Linked DNA regions of Homo sapiens: regions 2, 3 and 4 are each linked to region 1. The links are contacts of gene promoters, found by promoter capture Hi-C in blood cells and fetal thymus (Javierre and others, 2016). All regions are on one chromosome and are shown on one strand. The core of a region is centred on a gene start or on the middle of the fragment in contact, and the rest is flanking DNA. Distances in the headings are between cores, read along the strand shown. Region 1 holds the start of RTP4 (receptor transporter protein 4). Region 2 has its middle 15 kb from the start of SST. Region 3 has its middle 5.7 kb from the start of RTP2. Region 4 overlaps LOC100131635 (hCG1645011-like).

Region 1 (2,700 bases), core at 103-2,602:
AACAGATTCTGCAGCTAAAAATAAGCATATACTGTATTTGATACAATATATAATAATACATATATTATTTATAAATTTATTATTCTGAAATACATAGTACATATGTATATATAATTATATATCATTTATGTATACATATACATATATATTTTATCTTATCCCATTATCTTATGGGAATGTATACGAAGGAATACTTACTCTGCCTAGGAGAACCAGAGAATGCTTTTAGGAGGAGGAGGCACTAGAGTGGGCCTTGAAGGATGAGCAGGGAGGGGTGAGGGGAGGGTCTGCTGAACAAGCAGAACTCCATGAACAAGAGTGTGGAAGTCTGAAGATGCATGGCATAGCTAATAGTCCATAAGGAATGGAGTAGGCCATACCTGAGGCAGGATGGGGCAGGCAGGCAAGCTGAGTAATAGGTCAGATGAAAACTATACCGAAGGTCCTGTGTGTCATTTAAAAATAAATTTGATTATCCAGGTCAGCAATTCTCACCCTCCTAACATGGTCAAGGAAACTGGTTCCTGCAACCTGGAGGCTTGCTGGGGGTTAAAGAGGGAAGTGGTGAGTAAGGGAGGAGTATTACTTGGTGACTCCATGAACTGGGTTTTAGATTTAGTTTTTGCAACATCATTCTATACTATTATCCCCAGGCCTTCAGTAAAGCAATGTTCAGAGTAACTGCTTGATCTTAGCCAATTCTTAAGATATTTAAAAAAAAAAAAAAGGCTCCGTCCCAGGCTTGTACTGAACAGTGCCAAGGCTTGGAGAGCTGGTGCAGCTGGGGGAAGCTGGTCAGGACTGCTGGGGAGACTGCAAAAGACTCTAGAGGTAGTCTGGAACAAATGACGTGGTGAGAAACTAGAAGGGAAAATTTATGGAATAGGGAGCCTTCTCCAGGGTTTTCCAGAAATATTTACGGAGGGAAACCTAGTAAAAGAAGAAACTTCCAGCAGTTAAACAAAATGGAGGTTTGGAGTCGTCTTATCATGTCGACCCTAAAGAGTACTATGACCACAATAGGATGGAGGCCCTGGTGACATTTACTCCTTCAACAAGCTCTCAGAGGAATAAATCATGCTAAGCTGAGCCTGAGCCTCTCTTCTCAGAAGAGCTATTGCCTGGGAAACCCACACTCACCAGCCAAATGCTCTCTGTTGGTATTGCTTCCACCCTTGAGCCAGGCAGTCTAGCTGAAGGTTGCCATCCAACTTCAGCGTCCATGTGGCCCGGGGTTTTGCCTCTTGGATTAGTTCTTGAAATGTCTGCTCCCAAGTCCAGAAATCTACAACCATTTTTTCCCTCTGAAGCTGAGAGAGTAGCTTTCAGGTTTGCTCGTTTCTCAGGAAGAGACAAACAGTTTCAGTTTCGGTGTTCGGTTCAGTTTCTGTTTCTGTGTATGGACATGAGCTGTTTTTTTCAACCTTCATTTTAGACTGTCTGAGTACACAGAACAAGTCTTTGTTCTGAAAACAGACAGCAGCAAAACTGTGTTAGTTAATAGGCCTTGCTGAGAGAGAGATAAAGAGCTCTGTTCTAGATTCTGGGGTCACATATAAATTCGCTTTTATTTTCTCTCTCTCATTTTTTATAATAGGCAAAGTGAGAGGTGACAGCATGCTGGTAGCCCTCGCAGCCCTCGCTCGCTCTCGGAGCCTCCTCGGCCTCGGTGCCCACTCTGGCCGCGCTGGAGGAGCCCTTCAGCCAGCCACTGCACTGTGGGAGCCCCTTCCTGGGTAGGCCAAAGCCAGAACCGGCTCCCTCAGCCTGCTGGGAGATGTGGAGGGAGAGGCACGGGCAGGAACCGGGGCTGCATGCAGGGCTTGCAGGCCAGCTAGAGTTCTGGGTGGGCGTGGGCTTGGCGGGCCCTGCACTCGGAGCGGCCGGCAGGCCCCCAGCCCTGGGCAGTGAAGTGCTTAGCACCTGGGCCAGCAGCTGCGGAGGGTGCGCCAGGTCCCCCAGCAGTGCCGGCCCACCGGCACTGAGCTCGATTTCTCGCTGGGCCTTAGCTGCCTCTCTGTGGGGCAGGGCTCGGGACCTGCAGCCCGCCATGCCTGAGTCTCCCCACCCTGGGCTCCTGCATGGCCCAAGCCTCCCCGACGAGTGCCACCCCCTGCTCCATGGTGCCTGGTCCCATCGACCGCCCAAGGGCAGAGAAGTGCGGGCACACACGCAGGACTGGCAGGCAGCTCCACCTGCTGCCCCCGGGGCGGGATCCACTGGGTGAAGCCAGCTGGGCTCCTGAGTCTAGTGGGGACTTGGAGAACCTTTATGTCTAGCTAAGGGATTGTGAATACACCAATGGGCACTCTGTATCTAGCTCAAGGTTTGTAAATGCACCAATCAGCACCCTGTGTCTAGCTCAGGGTTTGTGGATGCACCAATCAGCACCCTGTCAAAACGGACCAATCAGCTCTCTGTAAAACAGACCAATTGGCTCTCTGTAAAATGGACCAATCTGCAGGATGTGGGTGGGGCCAGATAAGAGAATAAAAGCAGGCTGCCCCAGCCAGCACTGACAACCGGCTCGGGTCCCCTTCCACGTGGTGGAAGATTTGTTCTTTTGGTTTTTGCAATGAATCTTGCTGCTGCGCAGTGTTTGGGTCTGCTCTGCCTTTATCAGCTGTTAACACTCACCCGGAAGGTCTGCAGCTTCACTCTTGAGCCAGCAAGACAATAAACCCACCAGAAGGAAGAAAC
Region 2 (2,700 bases), core at 186-2,685, 290 kb before region 1:
TAGGGAGGTTGATGTGGGAGGATCACTTGAGCCTGGGACGTGGAGTTTGCAGTGAGCTGACATTGTGCCATTGCACTCCAGCCTGTGTGACAGAGCGAGACCCCATCTCAAATTAAAAAAAGAAAATTAGATTCATAATCTCTGGGTGCAATGATAAAAATGATTTAGGGGCTCTGACTTGATAGTTAGATCCTGCTAGGTATGAGACACTCTTGACCATAGACTGAGGTTTTTCTTGAGTGTATGCTATGCCTCTTAAGGTAATATTTTGTTTGCTTTTATAAAATTGCCAATTCATATTCATCCATATATTGTTTATTTTGCATTGTTATTAAGTGGCTCACTTATGGTGGAATGTGTATATGAGTGTGTGTATAGATTTTTATTTTTATTTTTTAAGATGAACTCCTTCGATTTACGGATACTTATTGAGGGTCTATTTGCTAGGCGAGGTGGAAGCTACAAATATTAATGAGTTAAAATATTTGTCCTTAGTTCGAAGTCTAAATGCATGTTTACTAGTAACTATGATACAAGACATTAGTTCTTCAACAGTGTTAGAATCACCTTGAAATGTGTGAGAAATGCAGATTCTTGGGCCCAATCCCAGACCTAATAACTAAAAAATGTTGGTGATTGCTCCAGAGATCTGTGTTTTAACAAGCCCTCCGGGAGATGCTGGTGCACACTAATTTTGAGAACCACTTTCTAAGACAGTGAGAAAAAAATATCAGGTTTGGGTATATTTGGAAAGTCACCATAGTGACTAATATGCCATTTGTAAATATTTATGTTTATAATATAATATGCCATTTGTAAATATTTATATTTTTCAGAACTTATAACAAATAAATACAAAGTTGAAGGGTTTTTTTTCTCTTCTGCAGGGACAGGCACTATCAGGAATTCAATGTGTATTCTTCCCACCTAAAGTTTTAAACTTTTACTATATGTGTATAAAATCACAACTAATATGTTGCATTGCTTTGTGCTTTAACAATCTTTATGAATGTTACCTTATGTTATATTTTTGAGGTCTATCCATTTAAATTTTTCAGTCATTTTTATTGTTGATAGTATTTCATTGCAAAATATACCACAATATCTTTATCTATTCCTCTAGTGAGAAACATCTGAGTTGTTTCAAATTTGTAAAGAAGGAAAACAAAGCTTGTTGATGTCTTTAGTTCTTTTTTAACACTATGAAGCTGGATGATCTCTTTCTACTAGAGAAAAAAGTTAAAATCTAAATAACTCTGCTGGTCTTACAGTGCCTTTCATTTAGCCATAAGCATTTTATGCTTCCAGGCAATTTTTATGTTATAATTTGCTTTATTTGAAGATTATATAATTAAGTCCATCTACTTACTGTCCCTTTGTACTTATTCATCACATTGAGATTTGACCTCTCTGAAATTTCTTCTTTGGAAATTGTCTATAACGAGAACTCTCTGAATCTCAGCAGATGTTTCTAAACTCCATTGATTTCAGTTAGCATAAGTTCCCAACAGGTACTTCTAGGGAGATAGAGAGCTGAACAAATCAGACACTTGTTTATAAAAGTAAAATCATCTGGAAGGAGCTGACTTGAGAGGCTAACCTCAGGGTGAAGGCTGGATCTGCCTCACTGAACCCAGCCACAAAGAAAATCAATGATTCATTGGGGTGTAGACCCCAGGTCATTATAGCCCAAAGCTTTATAATCTGCTATATAGTTTGCCTTTTTAGGAAAGCTGTTTATATCTGGCAAATTTCTTTACTGTAACAGCTTCTACCATCTCCCAGGAATGCACTAATGTCCTTCAAATCCTGTCCTGAGAATTTTCCCAGAGACATGTGTGGTTGGGACCCAAGAGAGAATCAGCATCTCCTGGCTATGCCCTCACCCATCATTTAGAACTTGAAACCATTCTTGAGACTGTGAGCTAACTCATCATTCAATATTTAAACCTGCTCTGACATACCCCTATCCAGGAGTCATCTACACACTGCTGAAATGCCTCTGGTGGTAGGGTACTCACTGCTAAGAGCTCTCATGCCCTGGCCCCTCACAGTACCCATGTTCTCTCTTTTTCCTCCTAGCCATGCCTAGTTATTTACTTTTCTTTTTTCGTGTGATGTGTATTCCCATCCTTTCGTCCATCTCTGCACACAATTGAGTGTTGTCTATATTTTGTTTGTGTTTGTTTCTGAGAGTTATAAATCATTCTAAAGATCTAGAAAAGAAGTATTTCAACTATAGTGTTAAGTACATCAACTTATTTTTATTTTTTGATGGACTCTGTCTCATGGTCCACAGGCTGCTTTGATCAGCTCTTGGTTGAAATAAGAGCTAAAATATGCTGGATTTTTAGGTCTGTTGCTATCACCAAACCATAGGAAGACGTTTTGTCAAACACTGGGAACTTATTTTTTATAAATGAGAAAAATGAGGCTTATGGAAGAAAAGTTTCATATCCATTGTTACATTCAGGATTAAACTCTCATTCTCCTGGTTCTCTTACCAGTACTCATTGCATTATCTTTGTAAGACACTTGCAGGTATGAGTCTGTCATATATTAATTGCAGAATTTACAATTTGGCTTATGGGGAGGTAAGACTGTGAAGGTCATGTTGTCAATTTCTGTTAGTAAATTTGGGTAAGTGGGTTCCTAATGCTAGCTAGGTTTAGTTCTAAATGCAGCGTCCCATGGTCCTCA
Region 3 (2,700 bases), core at 100-2,599, 330 kb before region 1:
CCCCATTATGACCCCATTAGGTTCTGTGTTAATCCTGCCTCGTCCTTAAGCTCACCTTCAGCTGCCTCTGCCCATCCTGCCTTGCTTCCTTTTGGAGAGGGCAGTGGCCCCATTCAATGCTTAGGGACAAGGTACCTGGTCCTCTCCTGGAGAGCCTGCTCCTGTCGTTCTGAAACTTAGTTTTTTTACTCTGGTGCTAGGGTCTGCTTGGCTGGAATTGTCTAGACCTGCACTGTCCAATATGTTGGCCACTAGCCATATGTGGATATTTCAATTTAAATTAATTAGAATGGAATAACATTAACAATTCAGTTCCTCAGTCACACCAGCCACATATCAAGTGCACAGTACCCTTATGTGGCCAGTGGCTAACATATTGCAATGTACAGATATAGAACGTCATTACAGAAATTTCTGTTGGTGAACTCCAGTCCAGAACTTGAAATTCCCACTTAAATGTATGTGGACTTATACCACCAAGAGGTGGGTGCAGGTTTAAAGGTGCAGCATGAAGCCTTCTGGGGCAGGTAAAGGTGGTGTGAGGTTTGCTAAAGGTAGATAAACACTGTAAATAGATTATCTCTGTGCTCCTGCCTCTCTTGAGTAGCATCTGCAGTGTTGTCTTACCTTATTTCCTGAGAGGATATGGAAAGTGGGTCTGGGCTGGGTGCGTTGACTCACGCCTGTAATCCCAGCACTTTGGGAGGCTGAGGCAGGCAGATCACGAGGTCAGGAGATAGAGACCATCTTGGCCAACATGGTGAAACCCTGCCTCTACTAAAAATACAAAAATTAGCTGGGCATGATGGCCATCATGGTGAAACACCATCTCTACTAAAAATAGAGAAATTAGCTGTGCGTGGTGGTGCACACCTGTAGTCCCAGCTACCTGGGAGACTGAGGCAGGAGAATTGCTTGAACCTGGGAGGCGGAGATTGTGGTGAGCCAAGATTGTGCCACTGCACTCCAGCCTGGGTGACAGAGCAAGACTCTGTCTTAGCGGCGGGGGTGGGGGAAGAAAGTGGGTCTGGTCAACTGGGTCTGGGAAAGAAAGTAGACCATAGGGATGGGGTGCCAATTGCCAGTTGCTTACAGCCCCTTTGTAGGGTTCATAGACCTTAAATGCCACAGTTGTGTCTTTTTTTTTTTTTTTTTTTTAAGACATGGTCTCGTTCTGTTGCTCAGGCTGGAGTTCAGTAGCGGCATCACAGTTCACTGCAGCTTTGAACTCTCAGGCTCAAGTGATCGCTCACCTCAGCCTCACAAGGGGTGGATCATACACACATTTTTTTTTTTTTTTTTGGTGCAGTGGCAAGATCTCGACTCACTGCAACCTCCACCTCCTGGGTTCAAGTGATTCTCCTGCCTCAGTCTCCAGAGTAGCTGGGACTACAGGTGTGCGCCACCATGCCTGGCTAATTTTTTGTGTTTTTAGTAGAAACAGGGTTTCACCCTGTTGGCCAGGCTGGTCTTGAACTCCTGACCTCAAGCAATTCACCCGCCTTGGCCTCCCAAAGTGCTGGGATTACAGACGTGAGCCACCACCCATAACCCATACACATGTTTTAAAGTGCGTTTATACATTCCTGTGCTCAGCAGAGATGTGGTAGGACACACTAGCTACCCATGATGCAGGGAGATGCTCCTCTTTCATTATGTATGAAAATACATTATGGCAAATTTGATAGCCATCCTAGTTCCTGGCGATGGTGAGAGAAGGGGCAGATGAGGCAGATCTGCAGATGTGGATCTTCCAGGTGAGAGCAGGGCTGTGTGTCTCCACTCAGGGGAGGTCATGCCCAAGGGGAGGTGTGAGCAAGTGGAGGCAGACAGCACCTGTCCCCCAGCACCTTCCCCTCTGGCTAGTCCATGGGACCACCCCTTCAGGGTAAATGCATTTGCTGTTCCCATTCCCTCAGGCATAGCTGTGAGGCGGGCAGTTTGACTCATGAGCCGGGTTCAGATGACACTGTGTTGATCACTGTCTGGAATTGGAAACAGAAACTCTCCTATTCACACCCTTAATTGTCCCGACATTCACATCTTTCTATAGCCCACCTTCAGAGCCCCCACGTGGGGCCTGAGAGCTGAAGGTGAGGTTCAGGGATGGAGTGTTTGGTTAGATGTGTTCTCAGAGAGGGGCAGCTTTGAGCACTGTGCCCCACCTGCTGTCTGTCTCCACAGGCTGGCTTTACTCAGCACTGGCAAAGAAATCCTGGTGGCTTGTCAGATTTCTCTGTGGACCTGCAAGAGCAAAGAACTAGGCAATCTGGAAGAACCTCTGCCTTTATTTGGTTGGGTTCAGCAAAAGAGTACAAAAAGAGCATCAGGCTGGAGTGGTTGTAAATTAGCAGGAACATGAGGTTCTGGATTCACTTTCATCAGCTGCAGATGGTGCTCAGCAGGGCTGGTGCAGGGTGTGTGACCCTCGGGGCCATTGCCTAGCTGTGGATGCATGGTGTTTCTGGGAAAATGGATGTCAAGGAGCCCAGGAGTCAAGTGATCTCCAGAGAACTTGGCCAACCCTGGGAATCTTAAGGAACACGAAGGGACGGGACTGGGATGAAGTGGCGTCAGCAGCATCTGTTACTGAAGTTGTGGTTCCTGGGGGTAGGGCTAAACAGCCAAGATTGTGTCAAGGGAGAGGTCATGCCTCAGAGGGTCAGCAAGGCTGGGGCATCTGAGTTGAGGACTGTGAGT
Region 4 (2,700 bases), core at 88-2,587, 350 kb before region 1:
ACAGTACACAGAAGCCCAGCCCTACCATGGGAAGGCTGCCCATTACATGAAATATAGCATCCAGGGCCTGCCTCCAAAGAAGAGAAAGCTTCAGCACTCACTAAGAAAGTGGCCTTCTCTCATTCCCTATGACTCATGGGAGAAAAAAAGAAAAAAGATTAACACAAAAAAGTGGCCTTCTAGAAAGACAGATGCCCAGGCAGGAGGACTTTGGAGTCTAGGAAGGAGACCTAGTGGGGTTTACAGCCCCTGGGTACTACATTGCTCCCAAACGTTTGGGGTCTAGCCCCTTATTAAATGAGGCTGACTCATTTAACCCCAGATGACAGCTGCTCAACATATCTAAAAGATGAGTTTCCTGGGTCTTTCTTTCCCTTTAGGACCCCAAGAAGGCAGGTTGGTTATGTAAATACATATGGAGTTGGGATCACAGAATATTGTAACTGGAGAGAGCTTAGTGATAATAATTCTTCCATAGGCAAGGAAACCAGGCCTGAAAAGAAAGGTGACATGCTTAAGGTCACACCAAGAATTCTTATCAAACATCACCTGACTCCCAGTGAGGTTTGTAACGTGGTTCCAGCCCTCAAAGGTTCGTAGTCAAAATCACAAAACAAAACATGGACATATATGGAAGGAAAATTACAAGGAAACACCAAAATATATAAAACTATGGCTAATAAATTATGTTCCTCAATGAAAACATATAGGCACAGGGAGGGAAACATCACACACTGGGGCCTGTCGGGAGCTGGGGGCTAGGGGAGGGATAGCATTAGGAGAAATACCTAATGTAGATGATAGGTTGGTGGGTGCAGCAAACCACCATGGCACATGTATACCCATATAACAAAGCTGCTCATTCTGCATATGTATCCCAGAACTTAAAGTATACTAAAAAACTGATGTTCCTATGGATTCTGCATATCTTGAGAAGGGGCATGTTCAGAATGGCAAATTGTCCATTCACGGCAGTACAAGGTGGACAGCCATGTTGAGCTGGTGGCCCATGGAGAGGCTCTCTCAGGGTTCTCGTGTGTCTCCCATTTGTTCTGTGGAACTTCAGTGCCTCCTTCCATCTGGACAGAGCTGTCCTTTGATGTCACCAGTAGGAGTCACCTCTAGCGGTGTAATTAGTTTGCCAAGGCTGCTGAAACAAAGTACCACCAGCTGAAATGGCTTAAACCATAGAATGTTATTGCCTCATGGTTCTGAAGGCTGGAAGTCCGAGATCAAGGTGTTGGCACTGTTGGTTTCTTTTGAGGGCTGTAAGGAAGAATCTGTTCCAGCCTTCTCTCCTACCTTCTGGTCATTTCCTGGCAATCTGGCACTCTTTGGCTGGTAGAAGCATCACCTCAATCTTTTCATCTTCACATGGTGTTTCTGTGTTTGTGTCTCTGTATCCAAAGTTCTTCCCTTTTTATGAGGTCATCACTTGTGTTAGATTAAGGCCCACTCTAATGATCTCAACTTAACTAATTATATCTGCAACGACCCTATTTCCAAATAAGGTCACATTCTAAGGTACTAGAAGTTAGGACTTCAACGTATGAATTTTGTGGGGACATGATACAATTCAACAGAGGCTGTTCATGGGAAGAAAGATGAAGAAAAATGCTCTCAGAAAAGGCACCACCCTAGCTTCTCGTTTTCACTTTCTTCTCGCTGTCAAAGACTCAGGGAATTGAGATTTGGAGAGCCTTCTCATTGCCAGTAGGCTTTACACTCACGGTCTCAATTACCCTCACGACAACTCACTGAAGTGGGTTTGTCTTCCCTCTTTACAGATGAGGTGAATGGGGAACAAGAAGGTCATGGCACTCAGCTAAGATCAGGCAATACGTCTCTTTTTTCTTCTCTAGCTAGTTTTGTCTTTTATGTCACTGGTGGGTCTCTGTCCAAAAGAGCACGACAGGACAAAATAATTGTGCTCTGTGAACGACACACTTTGATCATGCAGATGGGAGAAAGCTGTAGATCTAGGTAGGTCTTTAAGAAATAGGAATCACCAAGAACTTACATACCAGGCCATCATGGGCTTGACAAAAACCTCAACAAGAACTGGAGACTATTATAGTTAATCATGTCTTGAATTATCATGGAGTATTTGAGCTTACCCCACTGATGGTCTCATCCAGCAGTTCTGTACCATAGGAAGATTTCAGACATTCTGCTTCTTGCTCTCCAGATGATTCTGACTTAGAACCAGTGGTGAGAATTCTGATCGAATCCAACTCTATCATAAAGGAAAGGAAGCCAAGTGACATTAAGCAAAGAAATTCTATAAGGACTAGGACACAGCTCCCCCAAGGCCTATGCCAGTATTAGTTCCTCGGAAATAATACTACCATGATTTCCTATTTCCAGAAACCTCAGTGCTGCCACTAAATGGTTACCTTCTTCATATACATTCATGTATCTGATTACTTCTTTGACAGAACCCTGGCGGGGGGAACCTTATATCAATGAACAGGAATTATAAAGAGGAAGAACTCAGCTTGATAGAATAAAGGATTTCCTGTGTCTAAAGATGGAACGGGCTTTGGGTGAGCATCTGAACTCATCACTGAAGGTGATTTAAGCTTAAGATGTGTGGTGAGTTGGCAGCAATCTTGGCTTGCAGGGAGGGTTGGATTAAATGACTCTAAGGTCCCTTTCAAACTTGAGATTACACAAGATCCTACCCCATTTAGAAACTGA

Evidence for each region. Contacts are between HindIII fragments. The CHiCAGO score rates a contact against its expected background, and 5 or more counts as called.
Region 2: a fragment that was not itself captured here is called in contact with the fragment with the promoter of RTP4 in region 1 in 1 of 17 cell types (megakaryocytes); the score reaches 5.8 in megakaryocytes.
Region 3: a fragment that was not itself captured here is called in contact with the fragment with the promoter of RTP4 in region 1 in 5 of 17 cell types (M0 macrophages, total B cells, M2 macrophages and 2 more); the score reaches 6.0 in M0 macrophages.
Region 4: a fragment that was not itself captured here is called in contact with the fragment with the promoter of RTP4 in region 1 in 5 of 17 cell types (M0 macrophages, total CD4 T cells, naive CD8 T cells and 2 more); the score reaches 6.2 in M0 macrophages.

What each region holds. Positions count from the first base shown.
Region 1 is chr3:187,367,037-187,369,736 of GRCh38, reverse strand. RTP4 (receptor transporter protein 4) reads right to left here and starts at 1,352. Exons shown (of 2, transcript NM_022147.3): 1 at 1,141-1,352. The coding sequence starts at 1,295. RefSeq lists an enhancer at 1,142-1,491. The HindIII fragment of the contact is 4,178 bases long and covers 1-2,700 here.
Region 2 is chr3:187,654,006-187,656,705 of GRCh38, reverse strand. No RefSeq gene overlaps it. Among named protein-coding and RNA genes, the nearest start is that of SST, 15 kb to the left of the region's middle. The HindIII fragment of the contact is 525 bases long and covers 1,173-1,697 here.
Region 3 is chr3:187,695,458-187,698,157 of GRCh38, reverse strand. No RefSeq gene overlaps it. Among named protein-coding and RNA genes, the nearest start is that of RTP2, 5.7 kb to the left of the region's middle. The HindIII fragment of the contact is 8,412 bases long and covers 1-2,700 here.
Region 4 is chr3:187,715,158-187,717,857 of GRCh38, reverse strand. LOC100131635 (hCG1645011-like) reads right to left here. Exons shown (of 3, transcript NR_034062.1): 2 at 2,118-2,236. It also overlaps a transcript of RTP2 not described here. Among named protein-coding and RNA genes, the nearest start is that of RTP2, 14 kb to the right of the region's middle. The HindIII fragment of the contact is 2,494 bases long and covers 91-2,584 here.